Regions from separate parts of the Homo sapiens genome. Here region 1 is linked to region 2. Evidence: promoter capture Hi-C in 16 types of primary human blood cells and fetal thymus (Javierre and others, 2016). All regions are on one chromosome and are shown on one strand. The core of a region is centred on a gene start or on the middle of the fragment in contact, and the rest is flanking DNA. Distances in the headings are between cores, read along the strand shown.

The links. The method cuts DNA at HindIII sites, captures the fragments that hold promoters and counts their contacts. A CHiCAGO score of 5 or more calls a contact.
Region 1: the fragment with the promoter of TPGS1 here is called in contact with the fragment with the promoter of PLPP2 in region 2 in 1 of 17 cell types (M1 macrophages); the score reaches 6.6 in M1 macrophages.

The regions. Positions count from the first base shown.
Region 1 is chr19:504,268-509,092 of GRCh38, forward strand. It overlaps TPGS1 (tubulin polyglutamylase complex subunit 1), which reads left to right and starts at 3,230. Exons shown (of 2, transcript NM_033513.3): 1 at 3,230-3,577. The coding sequence starts at 3,240. MADCAM1-AS1 (MADCAM1 antisense RNA 1) reads right to left here and starts at 3,622. Exons shown (of 3, transcript XR_936221.4): 1 at 3,109-3,622. MADCAM1 (mucosal vascular addressin cell adhesion molecule 1) reads left to right here. Exons shown (of 5, transcript NM_130760.3): 5 at 478-1,076. The coding sequence ends at 698. RefSeq lists enhancers at 2,306-3,163, 3,036-3,375 and a silencer at 2,376-2,505. The HindIII fragment of the contact is 8,539 bases long and covers 2,351-4,825 here.
Region 2 is chr19:290,153-292,652 of GRCh38, forward strand. PLPP2 (phospholipid phosphatase 2) reads right to left here and starts at 1,251. Exons shown (of 6, transcript NM_003712.4): 1 at 1,133-1,251. The coding sequence starts at 1,184. RefSeq lists enhancers at 1-447, 1-417, 448-1,145. The HindIII fragment of the contact is 12,026 bases long and covers 7-2,500 here.

The DNA.
Region 1 (4,825 bases), core at 1,980-4,479, 220 kb after region 2:
TTTTTTTTTTTTGAGAGACAGAGTCTCATTCTGTCACCCAGGCTGGAGTGCAGTGGTGCGATCTCAGCTTACTGCAACCTCCACCTCCCGGGTTCAAGTGATTCTCCTGCCTCAGCCTCCCAAGTAGCTGGGATTACAGGCGCCTGCCACCATGTCCAGCTAACTTTGTATTTTTAGTAGGCACAGGGTTTCACCATGGTCAGGCTGGTCTCGAACTCCTGACCTCGTGATCCACCCGCTTTGGCCTCCCGAAGTGCTGGGATTTCAGGCGTGAGCCACCCCGCCTGGCCTGGACTGCCCATTTCTAAACTCTAAGGTGCTATGCGCATTTCAAAAGGGTCATGGTAAAGTCCTTTGTGAAATTTCAGGGAACGTGGTAACTTTGGAAGCACGTGTAGCCTCTGAGGGGCTCCTCCCTTCCCAAGCCTGCAGAGGCCTGGAGGGCTCTGACCGGGGTCTCCTGCACTCTCTCCCCAGCGTCCAAACCTGCGGGTGACCAGCTGCCCGCGGCTCTGTGGACCAGCAGTGCGGTGCTGGGACTGCTGCTCCTGGCCTTGCCCACCTATCACCTCTGGAAACGCTGCCGGCACCTGGCTGAGGACGACACCCACCCACCAGCTTCTCTGAGGCTTCTGCCCCAGGTGTCGGCCTGGGCTGGGTTAAGGGGGACCGGCCAGGTCGGGATCAGCCCCTCCTGAGTGGCCAGCCTTTCCCCCTGTGAAAGCAAAATAGCTTGGACCCCTTCAAGTTGAGAACTGGTCAGGGCAAACCTGCCTCCCATTCTACTCAAAGTCATCCCTCTGTTCACAGAGATGGATGCATGTTCTGATTGCCTCTTTGGAGAAGCTCATCAGAAACTCAAAAGAAGGCCACTGTTTGTCTCACCTACCCATGACCTGAAGCCCCTCCCTGAGTGGTCCCCACCTTTCTGGACGGAACCACGTACTTTTTACATACATTGATTCATGTCTCACGTCTCCCTAAAAATGCGTAAGACCAAGCTGTGCCCTGACCACCCTGGGCCCCTGTCGTCAGGACCTCCTGAGGCTTTGGCAAATAAACCTCCTAAAATGATACAAACGTGTCAGTTTTCTCAGTTGACACCCACTCCGTGGAGAGGAGAGGTCTGAGGGCTCCGGACAGCAGAGGGTTGACTGTGGGTCCTGCCCTGATGGCTCCATCTCCCTCATCCCACAGTCCGGGGCTGGAGAAGAAAGTGTTAGAAATGCTTGTTCCCCGGTGCCGTAAAGAAATAGCACTTGAATATAAATGTCATTTCCTCAGCAAGGCCACTGTTTTACTTTCTGCAGAAAGGGTACACTGGCCAGCAGTTTTGCCACGAGAGTATCCAGAACAAAGGAGACAGGGTCATTTATAACCTGACGCGTCCACCCTACTGCTCTGTCCGGTTTCCATTGGCTGGAACGGGACGGTTTCCATTGGCTGGAACGGGACCTCACATTCTGTATTTATCCCGATCGGCTAGCAGCTTGGAACTTTTAAAAAGAGGCAAAGGCAGAGGAGAACAAAGGAAGGAAGAAGTAGCTTGTGGAATGCTAAGAAAGGTAAAAACACCTTCAAATAAGGAAGAGGAACAGGTTATGACCTAATGCTTGCTTGGACCAGTATAAGCATGCCAGGGCAGATATTTAGCCTACATTGTGGGCACTAAGAACATAAAGTATGTTGATTTCCTTATTACATTATATATATTCAATATAACATTAACAATTAATTAACAAAGAATGTTAGCACAGGTCTTTTGTTTGTTTGTTTTTTGAGACAGAGTCTCGCTCTGTCGCCCAGGCTGGAGTGCAGTGGCGCGATCTCGGCTCACTTGCAAGCTCCGCCTCCCGGGTTCACGCCATTCTCCTGCCTCAGCCTCCCGAGTAGCTGGGACTACAGGCGCCCGCCACCACGCCTGGCTAATTTTTTGTATTTTTAGTAGAGACGGGGTTTCACCGTGTTAGCCGGGATGGTCTCGATCTCCTGACCTCGTGATCCGCCCGCCTCGGCCTCCCAAAGTGCTGGGATGACAGGCGTGAGCCACCGCGCCCGGCCTACCACAGGCCTTTGAATACATTTTGCTTCTAAGAGAAGTTACTATTTATTCCTAATTAGATGGGGAGGAAAGTCTCATTTGAAGAGGAACCTCTACTTCACGTTTTACAAAGGGCATTTGGTCTGCCCGCCAGAGATTCCTGTGCTGGGAGGATGGTGGAACGGTCCCCCGGCAAACAGCTCTCATTGCCCCCTGCCCGGGGCAACGCCCCTGAGGGACGGGGACGGCACCCAGCAAGCTCTGCCCGGGGCGGGGAAACGCGAGGGCTTAGTGGTTTCCTCGGTGAGAAGCTTAACCAGGAGTCCCCGAAAGCAGTGAGGGAAGATCCACAGAGGTCGCCTGGGGAAACACACCCAGAGGCGGCTTATGGAGGAGACTGCTTGTGTTTTGAGGTGGCTGCGGGCTGCGGAGGGTTGGGAGGGCCGGGAGGGCGGCCGGAAGCGAGGTCAGGCGATGAAGGCCTGGAGGTGCCAGCCCGGGGGCCCTGGAGAGCCATGGCAGAGTTTACAGCTCTGGAGGCTGCGGTGTCAGAAAGCTCCCTCTGGCGGTCAGGGGGTAACAGCGCGGGATGCTCGCCCGTGTGGCCGCCAATAGGGGCTCAGCGCAGCTGCAGCGGAGCTGGGGAGGGGGCTTCTCCCACGAGGTGAGCTACGCACTCAGACGTTGACTGAGTTAGGCGGAAGGCCAGGCTGAGCTCGACCCCCAGCACCAAGGCTCAGAGATGAACATGAGAAAAGGGTCTGGGGGCCGGGCGCGGGGCTGGGTCCAGCAGTCCTGGGCAGGTCCAGCCCCGCGCATGCTCCGTCAGGCTTCTCTGCTAACCAGGGAGACTGGTTGCTAGGAGACCATGCTAATGAAGGACTCGCTCACTACCCAAATGGCAAGCAATCCGGCTTTGTGCCAGAAACGAAGCACTTCCGAGGCAGCCATTTTGGAGTCTGGCAAAATTCAGGACCGAGGCCAAAGCCAGGAGAGCCAATCAATATACACAAAGAGGGAGGAGAAGAGAGAGTGCCAATAAGGACACAAGGAAAGTGGTAGCGTACCCTTGTCACTTCCCAAAGTCTCCCAGCGGGATACCGGTGCCCTCTGCCCTTAATCAAGATGGCCGCCTTGGGGGGGCTCTAGCGCACAGTGGAATATGGCGGTGCTTCCGGTCCCGCTGCCCTCAGCGAAGATGGCGGCAGTGGAGAAGCGGCGGCAAGCGGTACCACCGCCGGCCGGTTTCACGGACAGCGGCCGCCAGTCGGTATCCCGGGCGGCGGGGGCGGCCGAGAGCGAGGAGGACTTCCTGCGGCAGGTCGGCGTGACGGAAATGCTACGTGCGGCCCTGCTGAAGGTGCTGGAGGCGCGGCCCGAGGAGCCGATCGCCTTCCTGGCTCACTACTTCGAGAACATGGGCCTGCGCTCGCCTGTAAACGGCGGCGCCGGGGAGCCCCCGGGCCAGCTCCTGCTGCAGCAGCAGCGCCTGGGCCGCGCGCTATGGCACCTTCGCCTGGCCCACCACTCCCAGAGGTGCGCAGTGGGCCGGCTTGGGCGGGTGGGGCAGCGATGGACTTCAACTCCCAGCATGCCGCGCGCGGCTCCCTACCCGCAGCGCCGGCGCAGGGGCCCGGGGCTTGCTGGGAGTTGTAGTGCGCGATGCCTTCTTGGGTGGGATGGATCGGACAAGGTGGGCTGGAGGGTCCGGGCTTCGGTCCGGCGCTAGGCAGCGCGCTGCATGCGGCGCGAGTCCTTCTGGCCGGCTTCGCCTTCTGTGATGCCTTTTTGCAGGTGCTGAGTTTCCCCTTGCAGTTCATGATTTTCAAAATCGTGCAGCTCAAGAGGACTTGGCCCGAGGTCGCAGAGCCAGCCCCCGAGCCAGGTCCTCCTAGTCGCCTCCTTAGCAGCCTCATGTTATCCCCGTCCATTCAGCCAGAACGTGAATATTTACAGAGAGCAGCGCAGTCACCCAGGGCCCCCATCTTAGGGGACAGGCTCCCAGCGGGCAGGTGGGGATTCCTGGAAGAGCCTGGCGATGTGCGGGCGGGTTGCAGGGAAGAGGCCCAGCAGGTGCAAATTTAGACCCCGAGTGTGGGGCACACGGGAGGCGGGAAAGCCACGGAATTTGGCTGAAGCATGCGAGGCTGCAGGTGCCTACGCGCGGTGTCCCCTGGCTGGGGCCAGTTCTGAGCCCAGGGAAGGTGGTTGGGGACTATCTGTTGGCGTTGGGGATGGATGGGCTGATGTCTTTTGTTGGGGGGGGGGTCCCCAGAAGCGGAGCCTGAGGTAGGCATTGTGTGTGCAGGTGATTTTACAAGGGGGTGCGCCCAAGAGAACCCAGGAAGGGGGTGGGAAGAGCAGGCAGGGAAGGATGCCAAGCAAAGGTGCCCTTTCAGCCTCATAACCAGGGCATAAGCGCCCACCATGGCAGCCCTCGCCAGAGTCCCAGAGAAGTTCGGGGGGAGAAGAGAGATGGGGAGTGTCCCCCCTACCACGTTCAGGGTGCACAGGTGTCCAAGATCATACTCAGATAAGGGTGGCAGGGTGTTGGGTACCTGGACAAGGAGCAGACTTGCTCCGGTGGCCCAGTGGCTCTGAAGGCCCCGCCCGATGATTTGCTGGAGCCAGGTGGGAGGGGAGCGGGCAAGGGCAGGCCCAGAGGGTCAGTGGAGCCGTTTACTGCGATGGAAGGCCCCTGGTTTGAAGAAGCTGCCAGAGCCACTTGCGGATTAAGTTGGAGGCTGGGAGGAGCCTGGAGACAGGAAGGTAGAAAGAAGCGTC
Region 2 (2,500 bases), core at 1-2,500:
TGCTCAAGCTTCCAGCATAGAGGTGCACTCGGCCTGGCCACCACCCCTGGCACACAGCAGCAACAGCCAACCCCATCTCGGCTGTACCTCCCGCTGCTGTGTGACCTCCGGCAGGTGACTCAGCACCTCCCTCACAGGCTGTTGTAAGGGAAATGTTTGTTATTTGCATGTTGCTTAGTTCCTGGCATACAGAAAGTGCCACCTAAATGTTTACATAAATAACACCATAGGTGCTCAGGAAATGGTACCACGGGCTGGCAGACACCCACAGGGACTTCTTGCTGTCACCTGGCCCACCCTAAAAAAGGGTCTCCTTCCGGAGGTAAGAGGACTTGGCCTCTGCTGTGAGATGGCAGAGAAGCAGGAAACACGTTGGGGAGGAGGGCACCCCCCAGAGATAGAATTCCAGGGCCATTGTCTGTGCAGCCACAGAGCAAACACTCGGCCTTTGTTCCCGGGACCCTGCGGGAGGGGGGCCTCGGGATGCCCATTCCGCCAGTGTGGCCCGCAAACCCGCCGGACAGGTTTGGTTCTCCTGGCCTCCCGGCCCCCCGCCACCCCGTTCACCCGAAGCCTGGGACCCAGCCTTCATCCCCAGTGTCTCCCCCGCCCGAGCCAGCAGGGCGGCTGGGCCTCCCCGCACGTGCACGGGTTCGAATCCCGCCGACGCACCGGGTGCCAGGACCGAGGGTCAGCCCTCTCCGCGCGCAGCGGGAGCGCCCACCCCAGGGGCGGAGGCGCGGACGTCCTGCCGGGGTAACCCGCGGCCGCCCCCACCTCCCGGGCCCGCGTGACTCACCTCCCAGGCCAGGCGGGGCGGGATGGAGGCGCGCGCGCGGCCCCTCCGCACAGACTTCCTGCTGCCGGGGCGGGGGATGCTGGCCCCGGCTCCCCGGGCCTCTCGCGACCCCCATCCCCCTGGGCCTGGGACGCGGGGACCCCCGAGCCTGGGAGGGCGCGCGCAGTGCGGGGCGCGGAGGGAGGTCTGGTCCTCACGCGAGGTCCCCGCCTCCAGGGTCCTCGGAGGGACGAGGGCGCGCAGCCTCCGCGTTCCCCTGCAAACTTGCGCGCAGCCGGGGGCGTGTCCGTCCCGGGAGGGTCCCCCCAACACCCGGGTCCCCAAGGCTCTTACCGACCAGTAAGCACAGCACGTCGAGCAGCACGAAGACCCACCTCCGCTGCATGGTCCCCGCGACCCCCGACGCCGGTCCCAGCGCGTCCCGTCGCGTCCCGGCCCGGCCGCGGAGTCACGTGGCGCGGAGCCCGCCCCGCGCGGAGAGGAGGGGAGGGGCGGGAAGGGGAGGAGGGGAGGGGCGGGGAGGGCACGAGGGGAGAGGTGAGGAGGGGAGGGGAGGGGAGGAGGGAGGGTTAGGGGCGGGGAGGGGAGGAGGGAGGGGGAGGGGAGGAGGGGAGGGCTAGGGGCGGGGAGGGGAGGGGGGAGGGGGAGGGAAGGGAAGAAGGGGGGGAGGGGAGGAGGGAGGGGGGACGGCAGCGGCGGGCAGGGGAGCAGCGGGGGGGGCGGGGCGCGGCGGACCCGGGACCGCGCGGACTCTGCCCCCGCCTGGCCGCGGCGCCCAAAAGAGCGGGTGGGGCGAGCGTGCGGGCGCCACGGGGACCTCGTCCGCCCGGAGTCCCGGCCCTGACCCGGGCTGTGCGGGTCTCCGAGCGGCGTGAGGTCCTCAGAGGCTGGAGGTTCCCCGCGGGTCGGGCCGGCGGAGCCCCGGGCGGGGACGTGGAGAAGGAGGACGAGCAGCGGCGGGACCGGCCCCGCGGGACGGTTCCCGACTTTCCTCCTCAGGGAGTGGCAGCCGCGCCGTGTGCGCCTGGAAACTCCGACAGCAGGAGGCACCTTAAAGTGGAAGGGGCGACGTGGCTTCATTTCAGGAGTTTCTTTTCTCCTAATACTCAAAATCCTGGCGCGTCCTTGGACCCCTGGCACGTTAGAAGCTCGAGTTCCTCGGCACCCACCTTGCGACGGCGTAGGGTGTCCAGGCGCAGCCCTGTGCCCAGGCACCGTTCCTATCAGCGCACTTGCTGTCCCATTTCACAGAAGAGCACGGGGGCGCCAGGAGCTGGGAACCCCATGAAATGGCGCCGGGGTCTGTGCCCCCACCAGGTCGTGGGGAGCCCTGAGCTGAGGGTGCCTGGGGATTGAGGGCACCTGAGCCAGGGAAACCCAGGCCCAAGGGACCCACACTGGGTCCTTTCGGCTGGGACCATCCGGGAGGCCTCAGGAGTGTCAGACCCACGTTTCCGGAGTCCAGCCTTGACCTCTGCCACTCACGGTCACTTAAATGGGAAGTGGCAGGCCTGGGGTCAGAAACAAGGCTGCTGGGCCCCAGATCCGCTGCCACCCTGACCCTCCTCTAAAACCCGTTCAGCACCACCATCAGCCCCCTGCCCCAGCAACACCAAAACAGGGTGCGTCTCAGCAACTGGACTTCAACTGGGAGCTCCTCGACCCTGCTTCCCGGATGGTCAGACACCTGCACGTGGGGCA